2 separate regions of the Homo sapiens genome follow, and region 2 is linked to region 1. The links are contacts of gene promoters, found by promoter capture Hi-C in blood cells and fetal thymus (Javierre and others, 2016). All regions are on one chromosome and are shown on one strand. The core of a region is centred on a gene start or on the middle of the fragment in contact, and the rest is flanking DNA. Distances in the headings are between cores, read along the strand shown.

Evidence for each region. The method cuts DNA at HindIII sites, captures the fragments that hold promoters and counts their contacts. A CHiCAGO score of 5 or more calls a contact.
Region 2: a contact is called between a fragment that was not itself captured here and the fragment with the promoter of THEM4 in region 1, in 3 of 17 cell types (naive CD8 T cells, total B cells and activated CD4 T cells). The highest score is 6.4, in naive CD8 T cells.

Annotation. Positions count from the first base shown.
Region 1 is chr1:151,904,703-151,912,299 of GRCh38, reverse strand. It overlaps THEM4 (thioesterase superfamily member 4), which reads left to right and starts at 2,789. Exons shown (of 6, transcript NM_053055.5): 1 at 2,789-2,940. The coding sequence starts at 2,842. RefSeq lists enhancers at 1,817-2,404, 2,393-2,512, 5,504-6,043 and a silencer at 2,753-3,062. The HindIII fragment of the contact is 4,270 bases long and covers 543-4,812 here.
Region 2 is chr1:152,455,958-152,463,554 of GRCh38, reverse strand. No RefSeq gene overlaps it. Among named protein-coding and RNA genes, the nearest start is that of CRNN, 45 kb to the right of the region's middle. RefSeq lists enhancers at 2,990-3,049, 4,968-5,037. The HindIII fragment of the contact is 1,034 bases long and covers 3,994-5,027 here.

The DNA.
Region 1 (7,597 bases), core at 1,540-4,039:
TCTGTCGCCCAGGCTGGAGTGCAGTGGCGCGATCTTGGCTCACTGCAAGCTCCGCCTCCCACGTTCACGCCATTCTCCTGCCTCAGACTCCCGAGTAGCTGGGACTACAGGCGCCCGCCACCACGCCCGGTTAATTTTTGGTATTTTTAGTAGAGACAGGGTTTCACCGTGTTAGCCAGGACGGTCTCAATCTTCTGACCTCGTGATCTGCCCGCTGCAGCCTCACAAAGTGCTGGGATTATAGGAGTGAGCCACTGCGCCCGGCCTTAATTTTTGTATTTTTAGCAGAGACGGGGTTTCACCATGTTGGCCTGGCTGGTCTCAAACTCCTGACCTCAGGTGATCCACCCACCTCAGCCTCCCAAAGTGCTGGAATTACAGGTATGAGCCACGGTGCCCATCCTATGGCAACTACACCTCAATAAAGCTGTCTACAAAATTAAAGAATGGTGAGAAGACTATTAAGTTTCATACCATTGGCTTATTCGAAGCCTAGTTCTATCAAGATTGAACATTTGTTCCTTGCCTAAACCATACAAGCTTCAAACTCCTTCACTTCCATAGCCTATCAATCCTATTTCTAGACTGTAACCTGCCCTTCCTCTTCCAAATCTGACCAGACATTTTATATGTGCTGTCAACACGAATATCCCAGAGTAAGCCATGCAAGAGTGTGGATGACTTAACTAAATGCACTGCCGCTACTTGAAAAATTTAGAGTTAAAATTTAATGAAGTTTAAACTCAGTGTAACTGACCTCTAATTGCCCTAAGTCTAAGGTCTTTTAAGAAGCTGATAGGTGCCGAGTGCAGTGGCTCATGCTGGTAATCCCAGCACTTTGGGAGGCAGGCAGATCACTTGAGGTCAGGAGTTCAAGACCAGCCTGGCCAACAGGGTGAAACCCCGTCTCTACCAAAAATATAAAAATTAGCCAGATGTGGTGGCACGCGCCTGTAATCCCACCTACTCGGGAGGTTGAGGCAGGGAGAATCGCTTGAACCCTGGAGGCAGAGGTTGCAGTGAGCCAAGATCATGCCACTGCACTTCCAGCCTGGGCAACAGAGTGAGACTCCATCTCAAAAAAACAAAAGGAAGCTGTTAGGTGAGCTATTGGTACATTAATCATATAGACAATCTTAGCAGGGTTGAAGTCTATAGGTATTGATTGATTTGACTACACTGTAAATTGTAAATAGATGCAATTTTAAGTTACCTGAATAAACTTTTCTATTCATTAACAGTAGTCATCTCAATTTTAGAGATTTACGTTATGCTCGTGCCTCCATCTGCACGCACAACATGGGAAGACAACAGACACCAAAGATACTTTGGATTCTTGCTGCTAAGTAAGTATTCAAGCACTACGTGCACGTTGTTACAATTAATAAGGCAATCTGACCCCATCCCTGCCACCAGGAAACTGCAATACTATTAATATATTAAAAAGGAAGACAACTGAGATAAAGGGAATGTGGGAGGTTGGGGGGGGTGCTTAGGAGATATCAGAATACAACCTCTTAGAATTACAGAATCTCAACAACCATCCTTTATGCCTGATCTTCGGTTCAGTAGCTCTAGGATTCCAAGGGGCCCCTCCTAACTGCATTGCCTTCTCTCCCCAATTCCCTTTCTCTCAGAATGTTACACCTTCCCCCAGTTAATAGTGTAGGCTTAAAATGTATCTAGGTGTTCTTACCTACTGACAAACTGCTGGAGTTGTTCATGGGAAAGGAATCAAGGCAAAATATCTAATGCATTCAGGTCATTCGAGTTTTCTTTTTAATTTATTGCTTTTTTGAGATGGGGCATCAGTATGTTGCCCAGGCTGAAGTGCAATAGCAGTATCTCTGCGAGACTCTGTCTCAAAAAAAACCCATTAGAGTCTTCACCTTAGGATGGACTAGGGCTATGGCATACTGGTAAGCATTTAAAAATAAAGGGGTATGATGGCCCGGATTTGCATTATCTGAGTAATGGGAATACTCCAACCCAGTCCGATTTCAAGGTCCCAGTGAGGTTACTGAATTCGAAGCTCAGAAGGTATGCGCCTAGTATTCCCACCATACGAATACAAGCGAGGTAAGTAACCTCAAAAGCATCGATAACAGTAAAATAGTTACAATACCTGTTACGCCTTTAGTATCCATTACCTTCGTTTAATTTAACTGTCAGTTTACATAACAAAAGAGTCTTTTAAGGCGTAAGCGCGCTCCTGGGGAGGGTATGGGGCTGTTGGCAGGGAAAGCAGCTTTTCGATCGTATAAATGCTCTTTGTGCCCAGACTGCCCTCTATAAATCAGCACTATCAACCCTGTCCAGAGACTTGCCCATGACCTCCAAGAAAACACTTTATTCATACTACTCCTAGCGTGCGCTCCTACCCGCCCCAGGGACTTCAGTCTTCCGGGGGAGGGATAACTACTTGGGGACACGGAGCACTGCGTACGCCCTGGGTCATGTGGGAAGGATGACCGCAAAGCCTCCAGTCGGCGCGCGGGTTCCGGGGCTGAGGGGCTGAGGGGCCCAAGGCGATAACCGGGATCCGCTCCGGCCGCGCTCCTCTTGCCTTTGAGAAGCCCCGGAAGTGGCCCGGCTGTTGGCCGCAGCGGGAGGTCTTCGGAAAGAAAAGGCCGGAACCAGAAGATAGACTCAACAGCGATGCCCTACCCGGACCCCGCCGGCCTCACACCCCGGCCAGCCAGCCGCCAGTAGTGCGCACCGCCTCCTCCCCAAGCCCCGCCCTGCGTCCACCCCAGGGGTTAACTCGCACGCGCGCTCTTGTGGCGGAGGTAGAGTGCGCCGTCCAGGGCTAGAGCAAGCGCGGCCCCGCGGCCCGGAGCCATGCTGAGGAGCTGCGCCGCGCGCCTCCGCACGCTGGGGGCTCTGTGCCTGCCGCCAGTAGGCCGGCGCCTGCCGGGAAGCGAGCCGCGACCCGAGCTGGTGAGTCTGGGCACCCTCGGGCATGGGGCGGGAGCAGGACTCAGAAACACGCCTGCGGTAACAGAGCCTTCGATTGTTATCCATACCCCAACCAGCCAATCTCAGAATAAAAGCTCACCTGGGCACCACAGGGCAGCATAAGCAACAGGGGCCTAGGAATACAGTCCTGAGATTCAAACCGTTAGAAAAGGGATGGAAAGGTGACCCCGTTTTTTTGTTTTTTAAGAGACAGGGTCGGCAGGGCGCTACCTGAACTGCATAATTTAGTCTGTCTATTTATATTTTGACAACATCTGTATTTTACCAATAATATTTGAGGCTGTTTTTATTTTTCAAAGATTAAAGTGACGTGAACTAAAAGATACCACAGCTTTTATCTTCCCTTTAAAAAAATATTTGATCCAAACGCTTATCTTCCTTTAGGTCAATTAATTAGAGATCTTTTTATAGACATCACACACAACACATATATAACTACACAGACAGGCAGAAGAAAACCCAGTTGCCATAAGATCTTTCATCACAGGGAGAGGGATCTATCTGCTTTTAATTCCTGGGGTTCCATGAGGAAAACAGAGATCGCCCCTCTTATGCAGGCATTAAAAGTGGCAAGGCAAAATGGAGAAAAATAACTCAGTCGACCGCAAAGAAACACTTTTTCCAGCAAAATAAGGTCCAAGAAAAGGAAAACATAAAGGCCTTATAAATATAATTACAACTTAGATATCTACTTTTAATTAAGCTGAGCACTCCTTAAGAAAATTCTTTTAACACCCTTATTATCTAACTTTAGCTCCACCAAGCGGCCAATATTTCTGGCTTTCAAACTTTACTTAAAGGCTCAGAGAAAGGAAAATCCAAGGTGGTTGGTGGAGGGCAGGGGAATCGACAAATAGCGAAAGGGCATACAGATACCAAACCAGAAAGGACTCATTCCCTAAGCCAGGATGAATCTGGGCCATGCCGGGCTAAACGAAGCTATGCAATGGGGTTACAGGCCACGCCCCCAAGGACGTAAAACAAGATGGAGGCCTGCAGCGAAGTTTGCTGTGGAGCATACAGAAAGACATGCAAAACACACAGATTGGCTACAGCTTACGACTTACCTCACAAATCCTTTCGCACAAAACTTTACAGAAAATATAAACGGTAATCCTCATCATTCCCAAAAGAGCAAAACGTCTTCCAAAAGGAAAAGAAAAACCTCCTTTAAAAGTATACTGCTGATGGGTTGGAGAGGAGATAAGGATGCCTGGGGGAAGAACCTCTTATTCCTATGCAAATGGTTCCTCCACCAGAGAGAGGAGCTTAATTGCTGTGGGACAGAGCTAGACTCCCTGGAATGGGGAGGGGGAGACTGCAGGCACCTGGTAGGGAACGCCAGCCAGCCATGCCGGCGCCTTGGAGCCTGGGCAGTGGCTGTGGCTCATTTATGCCCTGTGTGGCTACTGGACACCACACACACATGCTGCAGACACCACCATGCACCCCAGCCAGTAAAGAAGTGGGGCCAGGGAGCTACCCCACCCAACTGTCTTGTGAGTGCACTGGTGACCATTGGGGTGGGTGTGGACCACCTCCAGTATCGTAAAAAGAAAAATAGGTGCCGTTGCTGTCCCCCCAAAAAGAAGAGGAATGCCATAAGACCAAAAGGCTCAGAAATGAAAGTGAGAGGTTTTGAGTCCCCATTTCACTCATCCTTCTGTTGCAGGAATGAAGGAGGACTGGAGAGGCCATGGGGTGAGACAGGAGAACTTTATTGAGTGCACTCAGACCCAGCGGACTAACATCCAAAAGCTGGGCCCAGAACAAAGACAGCACTTGACTTTAATACACACTTTTAAAAGGGGGTGGGCTAGCTTGAAACAAGCTTACAGTGGCGTGAAGCATAGTGGCGTGAAAGCAAGGATACAGAGGCAGCACAAAGGCAATTAATTCATCAAATTGTGACAGGTGCATAATTCAGGATTACATACTGTGTCGGAATTGATGGGTTCTTGGTCTCACTGACTTCAAGAAAGAAGCCACGGACCCTCGTGGTGAGTGTTATAGTTCTTAAAGGCGGCATGTCCGGCGTTTGTTCCTTCTGATGTTCGGATGTGTTCAGAGTTTCTTCCTTCTGGTGGGTTCATGGTCTTGCTGGCTCAAGAGTGAAATTGCGGACCTTCGTGGTGAGTGTTATAGCTCTTAAGGCAGCACGTCTGGAGTTGTTCGTTCCTCCCGGTGGGTTTGTGGTCTCGTTGGCTTCAGGAGTGAAGCTGCAGACCTTCGCGGTGAGTGTTACAGCTCATAAAGGCAGTGTGGACCCAAAGAGTGAGCAGCAGCAAGATTTATTGCAAAGAGCGAAAGAACAAAGCTTCCACAGTGTGGAAGGGGACCCGAGCGGGTTGCCACTGCTGGCTTGGGCAGCCTGCTTTTATTCTCTTATCTGGCCCCACCCACATCCTGCTGATTGGTAGAGCCAAGTGGTCTGTTTTGACAGGGCCCTGATTGGTGCATTTACAATCCCTGAGCTAGACACAAAGGTTCTCCACGTCCACACCAGATTAGCTAGATACAGAGTGTCAACACAAAGGTTCTCCCAGTCCCCACCAGAGTAGCTAGATACAGAGTGTCGATTGGTGCATTCACAACCCCTGAGCTAGACATAGGGTGCTGATTGGTGTGTTTATAAACCTTGAGCTAGATACAGAGTGCCGATTGGTGTATTTACAGTCCTTTAGCTAGACATAAAGGTTCTCCAAGTTCCCACTAGACTCAGGAGCCCAGCTGGCTTCACCCAGTGGATCTCGCACTGGGGCTGCAGGTGGAACTGCCTGCCAGTCCCACGCTGTGTGCCCACACTCCTCAGCCCTTGGGTGCTCGATGGGACTGGGCGCCGTGGAGCAGGGGGCAGCACTCATCAGGGAGGCTCGGGCCGTGCAGGAGCCCACGGAGGGCGTGGGAGGCTCAGGCATGGCAGGCTGCAGGTCCCGAGCCCTGCCCCGCCAGAAGGCAGGTAAGGCCCAGTGAGAAATCGAGCGCAGCGCCAGTGGGCCGGCACTGCTGGGGGACCCAGTACACCCTCTGCAGCCACTGGCCCGGGTGCTAAGCCCCTCATTGCGTGGGGCCGGCAGGGCCGGCTGGCTGCTCCGAGTGCAGGGCCCGCCAAGCCCACACCCACCTGGAACTCCAGCTGGTCCACAAGCACCCCGCGCAGCCCTGGTTCCTGCTCGCGCCTCTCCCTCCACACCTTCCTGCAAGCTGAGGGAGCCGGCTCTGGCCTTGGCCAGCCCAGAAAGGCGCTCCCACAGTGCAGCAGTGGGCTGAAGGGCTCCTGAAGTGCCGCCAAAGTGGGAGCCCAGGCAGAGGAGGCGCCGAGAGGGAGCGAGGGCTGTGAGGACTTCCAGCACACTGTCACCTCTCACTATGACCCTTGCTTATGCAGCCCAGGTGGCTGTTATCTAGGCTTGCTCAAAAGAGCCTTGCAAGTGCTTATCTCATAATCTTCACTATGGTGCCCAGACGGCCGCAGCCTAGGCCTACTCAGGCATGTCTTATAACCTTCACTGTGCTGTTTAGATAAAACAGAATACTTGAAGTTACTAGTTACAGAAAACAGGAATCTATAAACTCATAAAACTTGCAGAGCAAGGTACAATCACACGGAAGGGGATGGGATTCAAGGGGGAACTTTACTTTTTCTTATCCTTTTGTTGAGGGAGTGCTGGAAGAGTCTCCAGAGCACATCCTTTGAGCCCTGGTTTCTTTGAGAATGTTATCAAGACTACACCCGGGTCAGGGCTTTGCCTGTTACTGCCTTTGGGATGAGTCAGCCTCATATAGAAAGCTTGTTTTTCACTTTTTAAATTTTATTTTGCTTTCTTCAATTTCCTGCCTCACTTCCTCAGGCCCCATATTTGAGCGCCAAACACAGTTAGGGTGAGAGTGAGACTCTGTCTCAAAAAAAAAAAGGACTTTCTTCTCAATTCATCTAAGTTCTTGTCACACAATCAGGAAAGATCAGTCTTGTGGACACAGAAGGGTGAGAATAATGGAATTTATTGGGCAAAAAAGGAAAAAGAGAAAAACCTCAGCAGAGGAAGAGGGAGCTGCTCCTACCCTGCCACACAGGAACTCAAGAGGCCAGGCTCCTTGCGTCTGCCAATGGCATGAACTTCTGTGGCTCCACCCTGTTCTCCCAGTCAAAGGCTGGTGGGAGGTTCTCTGGGGAGCTCTTTTTACTTCGCTGTCTTACCACTTTATAAATGTGTAACCAAAGCTCAAGCAAGACCTTTCCTCTGTTCAGGACAACAAAATATAATCGTTGTCCCTAACATTTCTACTTCATTTATAATCTATGCTTTGTCTTTACTTCAGGTATCTCTTAGTTTTCACCTCCTTGAACTGAAACCTTTATTATTTCTATTTCTACATTATTATAGTGTCCATCTGGAGTAACAAATTCAACCCCTGCCAAACTAAAATTAATAGTTACACTCCTGTTTTCTCTCTCCTGATCCACATGTGCACACTAAGAAAAACCTTTCTTTTCATTCTATTCACCCTAGTTTTCAAAGCCACAGCTCTAGATAATCATTCAAGACTCTTCTGCTTTCTCTTTCCCAGTCAGTAACTCCCCACATCCCTCAGTCCCAATGTCCTAAATATCTTAAAA
Region 2 (7,597 bases), core at 3,261-5,760, 550 kb before region 1:
TTAACATTAATAAAGTAAAGGAGAAATATAATATGGTCATCACAATAGAAATAGAAAATAATAATAAAAGATATTCAGATTAGAAAAAATAAAACTTATTATTCTCAGATGACATGATTGTGTTCGTGTAAAATCAAAAATAATGTACAAAACAACTAAAATTATAACTAAACTTAACAAGGATGATAGATAAAAGTCAATTTACAATAAATCAATTGTATTTTGATTTATTAGCAACCATCAAATAAGAAATAAAAATTTTAAGATATCATTTATTATAGCACCCACAAACATCAAACAAACAGAAATAAATCTGTTAGAAAATGTGCAACTTCTCTAGGCTGAAAACTATAAAATAGTACTGAGAGAAATGAAAGAAGTCCTAAATAAATGAAAAAATATTCAATATTTATGAGTTAGAAATTTGATATTGTAACATGTCAATTATCTTCACTTTTTTGTATAGAGTTAAAGAAATTCTCATCCCAGCAGGGTTTTTTAAATAAAATTGACAGGCAAATTCTAAAACGTGTATGAAAATGCAAAGAATTGGTCGGGCGTGTTGGCTCTGCCAGCACTTTGGTGGATCACCCGAGGTCAGGTGTTCGAGACCGGCCAGCCTGACCAACATGGTGAAACCCCTTCTCTACTAAAAATACAAAATTAGGGCCGGGCGCGATGGCTCGCGCCTTTAATCCCAGCGCTTTGGGAGGTCGAGGCGGGCGGTCACGAGGTCAGGAGTTCGAGACCAGCCTGACCAACATGGTGAAACCCTGTCTCTACTAAAAATACAAAATTAGGGCCGGGCGTGATGGAGCGCGCCTGTAATGCCAGCTAATCAGGAGGCTGAGGCAGGAGAATCGCTTGAACCCGAGAGGCAGAAGTAGCAGTGAGCGGAGATCGCGCCACTGCACTCCAGCGTGGGCGACAGAGTGGGACTCCGCCTAAAAAAAATTAATAAATATATACAAAATTAGCCAGGCGTGGTGGCGCATGCCTGTAATCCCAGCTACTTGGTAAACTGAGGCAGGAGAATCGCTTGAACCTGGCAGGCGGAGGTTGCAGTGAGCCAAGATCGCGCCATTGAACTCCAGCCTGGGCAACAAGAGTGAAACTCAAAAAAAAAAAAAAAAAAAAAGGAAGGAAGGAAGGAGCAAAGAGAATAGCCCAGCCAGCCAATATTTTAAAAAGGGATAAATTTGCGAGATTTATACCGCCCGATATCAAAATTTGTTATAACATTGCAGTAACTACGACTGCGGTATTAGTTTGAAAGTAGAACAATAGAACAAAATAAGAAGTCAAAAACGTTCCCATACATATACGGCCAACTAAGTTATGACAAAACTCCACTGCAATGTAGTAGGGGAAAAAAAAATGGTAGGAAATGATTCTGGGTCATTTGAATATCCATGTGGGGAAATAAATGAACCTTGACCCCTACCTCAATCCATACAAAAATATTTGTAAGAAATGGATCATAGACCTAAATGTGAGGGTTAAAATAATCCAGCTTCTAAATTAAAACAGAAGAAAATATACTGGGTAGACAAAGATTTCCTAAACAGGACATAAAAAGTACTATTTTATAAAAGAAAAATTATTTTATATTTTATAAAAGAAAAAACTGATAAATTGAAATCCTTAAAATTAAAAACTTTTAGTTCTTGAAAGACATTGAAAAGAGAGCGTGTAGGGAAGCAATAGGAAGATTTTGTGTCATATCTATCTGTATCTATGGCTACAGTTGTGTAACTTCTTTTATTTTTAATTCGCTGATTCCCCACGAGAGGGCGCCTTTCCACAAGTCCTTATTTAGCACAGCACTGATGGCCATAGACAATGCTCGAGCCTGGCTTTCTAGCACATCTCCATTTCCCAACACAGAGGCTAAGCCCTTTGTGGGAGGCACACATGTAGTCAGACAATCCTGGTAATATGTGATACGTTTGGGGAAAAATTTTTTTTAACAGTGACTTAAGACCTGGTAAGGTATCTGTGTGGCCAGATTAAAGGATAAGAGTGAGTTAGTAAAACCTAAAATGAACTGGGCGTGGTGGCTCACGCCTGTAATCCCAGCACTTTGGGAGGCCGAGACGGGCGGATTACGAGGTCAGGAGATTGAGACCATCCTGGCTAACACGGTGAAACCCCGTCTCTACTAAAAATACAAAAATATTAGCCGGGCGTAGTGGCGGGAGCCTGTAGTCCCAGCTACTTGGGAGGCTGAGGCAGGAGAATGGCGTGAACCTGGGAGGCGGAGCTTGCAGTGAGCCGAGATAGCGCCACTGCACTCCAGCCTGGGCGACAGAGCGAGACTCCGTCTCAAAAAATAATAATAATAATAAATAAAATAAACCTAAAATACAGGCAGTTCGTCTCTTTTTAGAAGTCAAAACCTTAACATCTGGGAGTGTCCGTATGAATTTTGGCCCCTAAAAATCTTAAAAAGGGATGTTTTTGAGTTGCCAGCATCAATACTTAGTATAAAAAGTTTATAAGTGCAATAACTCTTTGGAACTCTATCACCAAAGGAGGACATTCTTCTTCTATTTAGATGTCACACATCTCCACAAACCGAAATGCAGTCTGTTTCCTATTTATTGTTATATGTTGCCTGCATTCTTTCTTTCAACAGTTATTGAACACCTTGCTGTGTCCTAGGACCTGTGCACATCTTCTGGGATCTGCCATAATTTAATGCTAATTCTCTGTCCCCCTCTGGGAGAAGACAAACACATTAGCCACATGGTGATTAGATGTAGTTCAAGGTGTCTTAGGGTCTCTGAGGACTGGGGAGTTTGGAGAGTGTAAGGGATGGATCTTGGAAGTAGGTGATTTTTGAAGTAGGTGATGTTGGGGGACATCTTGGATGTACAGATTGTTTTTCGTAAGGTATACCAGCACAAGCAAAGGCAAAGGGACATTTGCATGATGCTACCATGAGGTATTATATACATAAAGTGTTTCGGGAAGACTGAAATAATTAATTTGCTAGAGTCACGTATAGAAAGGCTTCATTTGCCATTTCCAAGTAAAGAAGAATGAAGATTGACTGGGTGAAAAGGCGGTTTATGCACACAACCAGCAGGTGGCGCCCACCCTTCTGCACATCTAGCAGCCTGGTTAGTCCCTCCCAAATTACAGCAACCAGGAAGGAGTCAAATGCTGATGTCCACCTGGGCCAACCCTCACCCCCACACACATCCCACACCTTATACTCTGAGCTACTCTGAACCCACTACCTACAGAAACTAGAACAGATAGGAAACAGCATGGTTAAAAATGTTCCACACTTGCTTTCACTTTCAAGAAGAATGTCACTTCTGTGCTTTTACTTTCAGATAATTTAAAAACCAAAAGTCTACTTAATGCCAAAAAAAAAAAGAGAAGTAAAAATAGTAATTGATTTCAGAGTGGTGAGGACGCTGGACCTAAAACCAGGGGTACAAGGAAGCAGCCTCGGTGTGGTGGGGATCAGTGAGAGCCTGTGACTCCTGGGGCCCTCCTCGGCCACTGAGCTGGGGCTCACTGACACCAGGAGGCCAGCTCAGAGCATGGCAGCTGCTGCAGGCAGGGCCACTCGGCCGAATGAAGGCAATGGGGTGCAGAGGAGAGAACGGGGCTCTGGAGCCAGAACATCTGCTTTGCTGGCTCTGTGGCCATGTGTGAGTTACCCACTCTCACCAAACCACTATTTCTCAACTTCTAAATTGGTCCATAACACACTCCCAGAGGAGTTGACATGATCAGCATGTTTAAGTGCCTAGTGGTGCCCAGCATATAATATATACTCAGTCAGTAGAGGTAGCTCAACCCCATTACTCTCCTCTCTCACTCCCTTCCAGCCACACTGGCCTCTTTGCTGTATCTTGTGTAGATCAGGAATGATTTCACCTTAGGACATTTGCATTGGCTTTTCCCTCTACCTGGAATCTTCTTACCCAAGATATCTGCTTGGCTCCCTCCCTATATTTCTTTCAAAAGTAAGCTTCTTAATAAAGCAGAGCTGACCAGTCCATTTAAATTACAACTTACCCTTTATCCTTGCCACTTGCACTCTCATTCCTTATTCAGCTCTATTTCTATAGTGGTTACCGCCTTCTAACATGTTGTATAATTTACATATTTATTAGGGTTATTGTTTACTGCCTACTACTCCCACCCACATATCCCAGCTTTTATCTATTCTGTTTACTGCTGTATCTCTAGAGTCAATAACACTGACTGGACATCGTAGACACTCAACAAATACTTATCAGTTTTATGAATGAATGGATGCATGGATAGATGCTCTTCCATCTTCAAAAATCAAATATCATCTGTCAAACAGAGAGAGCAGGTGTTAAGGTCAAAGGCGATCCCTTATGTGAAAGGGCAGGTGGAGGAGGAAGCACTGCACCATGGAAAACTGTGTTCCAGGTGGTTGCCAAGAATACTCAGAAGTTAGAGATGAAGGGCTGCCCCAGACACAGCCTTGGGGCCCAAGATTCATACTGCTGTTAGAGGGGCACAAACTTGCTGGGTTTTGACTCTGGGAGGAAAACCACGTGTGGGGTCTTAAGCGGGGCCCTGTGTCTTTGGGGATTCACATTTGTTGCACCCAACTATACTCTGGAGCTTCAGAAATCAATGGAAGTTGCTCTGGATTCAAAAATCAATAGAAGTTGCTCCCTTCCCTGGAGATGCCCACGGTCAACCTTTGTCTTTTGGAGTCAGGCTAACCTGAAGTTGAATCCCAGCTCTACCACCATTGAGTTATGACCTTGGACAAATCACGTAAATTATCTGAGTTTACACTTCTATACATGGCAATATTAGTGGCCACTTTTCAGCAGACTGCCTACACACAGTGTGAATTTGAGAAATACTAGTTCCCTTACCGTTCCGTCTTCCATCTCTGAAACTTCGCTGGAGCTCCATCTTCTTGAGACATGGCGATGCATTTCAGGAGTTTCCCTGAAGAGGGAGCCAGAGCACCACGGAAATCCTAATTGTTGGCTGACAGCAGTCAGCGCAGGGAAGCTTATGGGCACAGCCAGTCAGCAAGTCTTTTGGGTCCAGACCTCGGCTTCCTCTCTCTCAATGCCTTCTATCAAAACCCCCCCACCTTGTGCCAAGTGCTGCTCACAGTCTGCCAAGCAGCTCCCCTATCTCAGGCTCTACCTAGTCAAAATGATCTTTCAATCAAAATTCCAATTTTCTTTTCAGTCACTTTATATAGCTGTTGTCATAGTAAGTGACAACTTGGTTTAATAAAGCCAGTTGTGCCAGGATGTTGCTAGGTAATATTTGCTACTTCTAGGTAACGTGTATATTTTAACAGGTGCCTTCTGATGATACATATGGGGACAGGTAGGCATTCCAAATGCTGAGATCCAGTGCCACTCACCTTTAGACCACCCTGCATTCCATGGGCTATACTTAATATTTGGTGCTTACCCACAGTAAGCTTACATTAGGTTGAACACATAAAATTGTTCATAATCCACCATTTTACCTACAAAACAACAATTTCATATGGTCCAAAATAATATTTCACTTCTTCACCCCCACTCAATTTCAGTGTAGACTCCAGGTCTTTTTTTTTACTTTCCCCATCACATTTTTGCCCTCAAGCACTGTTTTCACTCTTGTTATATTCCCCCCCTCCAGCCCTACCTCAGTTTCCAGTTCCTACACCTTGCCTAGGCCACACCTCACCCTTGCAGGGCATCTCCCTGCTGAGGCAGCTGCTGTGATGGGATTGGTCCCACCTGCCATCTCCAAAATGAGCACAACAGGGCTTTGTCCAGCCAAGAACATAGGGCTCCAGCTCCTCCCATACCACAATATCCCATGAGCACTCTCTCAGTCTCCCAGCAAACTTCTCTGCCCTCGCAGACTCTGGAGTGCCAGTCCCATCGAGTAACTATCTGAAACCCTTTGAGTCTAATTGTCTTCAGATGTGAAATGTAAAAGGACAATGCACACCACATAAGGTTGACATAAGGAATGACTGGCGTAATGGTTGTAAAAAGCCTAGCACTGTGCCTGGCAGATGGCAGTCATTCTGCAAGGTACAGTTGCCCTCTCAGAACCTAGGCATGGTGTACAAGACCAAAGCCCCCAAAGCAACTCATTGTCCTGTCCACCTCTTCCTAAAATGCCATGTTATTGTTGCACCCCCATAGGCACCATTTTGTCAAGTGTGGTCTGGTCCTATTCTCCAAGCACTCTGTATCACACACTCCTGTGATTGCCACAGCATGGGGCAGGGCTGGCCTGGTAACTCCCTAAGGGACTAAGTCCTGCCTCACCAACAGTCTTCTATTCTGTCCTGGGCCCCTGAGATTCTGCCCTTCCACACAACAAGAGTAGTGACTGTGATACCAGAACCACATGACATGTTAAATAAAGAGGCTCTGTAAAGAGGAGCAGAGAGATGTGTGCCCCGGAGGGGAGGGAGGTGGTCAGGCTGGGGGTGAAGAGTGGTGGGACTTGGCCCTAGGAACTCCTGCCCTTTTGTCCTCCTTCCTGCCATACCCTCTCCTGTGTGTTCTTAGCATCTCACCCCCACTCCTCATCTCTCCAGTTCTAAAACAGTCTGTCAAGGCTTCTGGAAGTGGAGAGAGACCCAGGCTGGTTATGGAGGGATTATAAGGAACTGCTAAACACAAAAGACAATGGTCAGCCTCACCCAGACAAAGGCAAATGCCTGTCTTAGTGGGGAGATTGCATGTTCATCCAATTTGAAATTTTAAACAGATGTATAACTCTAAATACTTTAGAATTACAATGTTAGGTTGTGATTTTGAAAAATACCAGAAAAAATGGTATTATGCTAGCAAAAATATAAAGTGGAAATTTCCTCTTCCAATGGGAATGGAGTTACAGGGATGGATTTATCCTGTAACCTGAAACAACTACATAATCTGACAAGCTATAGTTGGCCTTCCTTATACTTGACTTCTACATCCATGGATTCAACCAACCATGGATCAAAAACATTTGAAAAAATACAATAAAAATACAATTTAAAAATACAGTATAACAACCATTTACATAGCATTTACATTATATTAGGTATTATAAGTAATCTAGAGATGTTTTCATGTCTACAGGAGGATGTGCATAGGTTATATGCAAATATCTTGCCATTTTACGTGAGGGATTTGAGCATCTCCAGATTTTGGCATCTTCAAGGGTCTTGGAACAAATCCCTCGTGAATACCAAGGAATGGCTATATAAAAAGAACAATAGTTTTCAAGACCATGAACCTGAAGCAATGCAGGACCATGATGTTTGCAAGATGAAACAAAATGAGCTGAACCCTAGGACTGTCCTGGCCTCCTCCCGGCAAAGGGTTTCCAGGCTGTGACTCAGGGAGCGGAAACTGGCAGAGTCCAGTGGACTCTCAGGATTGAATAAATGGAACTGGATCCTAAAAGACCAAGGCAGCTAGAGTTTTCAAGACAGACTACTAGCCTAGCTGTGGGGAAAAGAAAGAGAGATCAGACTGTTACTGTGTCTATGTAGAAAGAAGTAGACATAAGAGACTCCATTTTGTTGTGTACTAAGAAAAATTCTTCTGCCTTGAGATGCTGTTAATCTGTA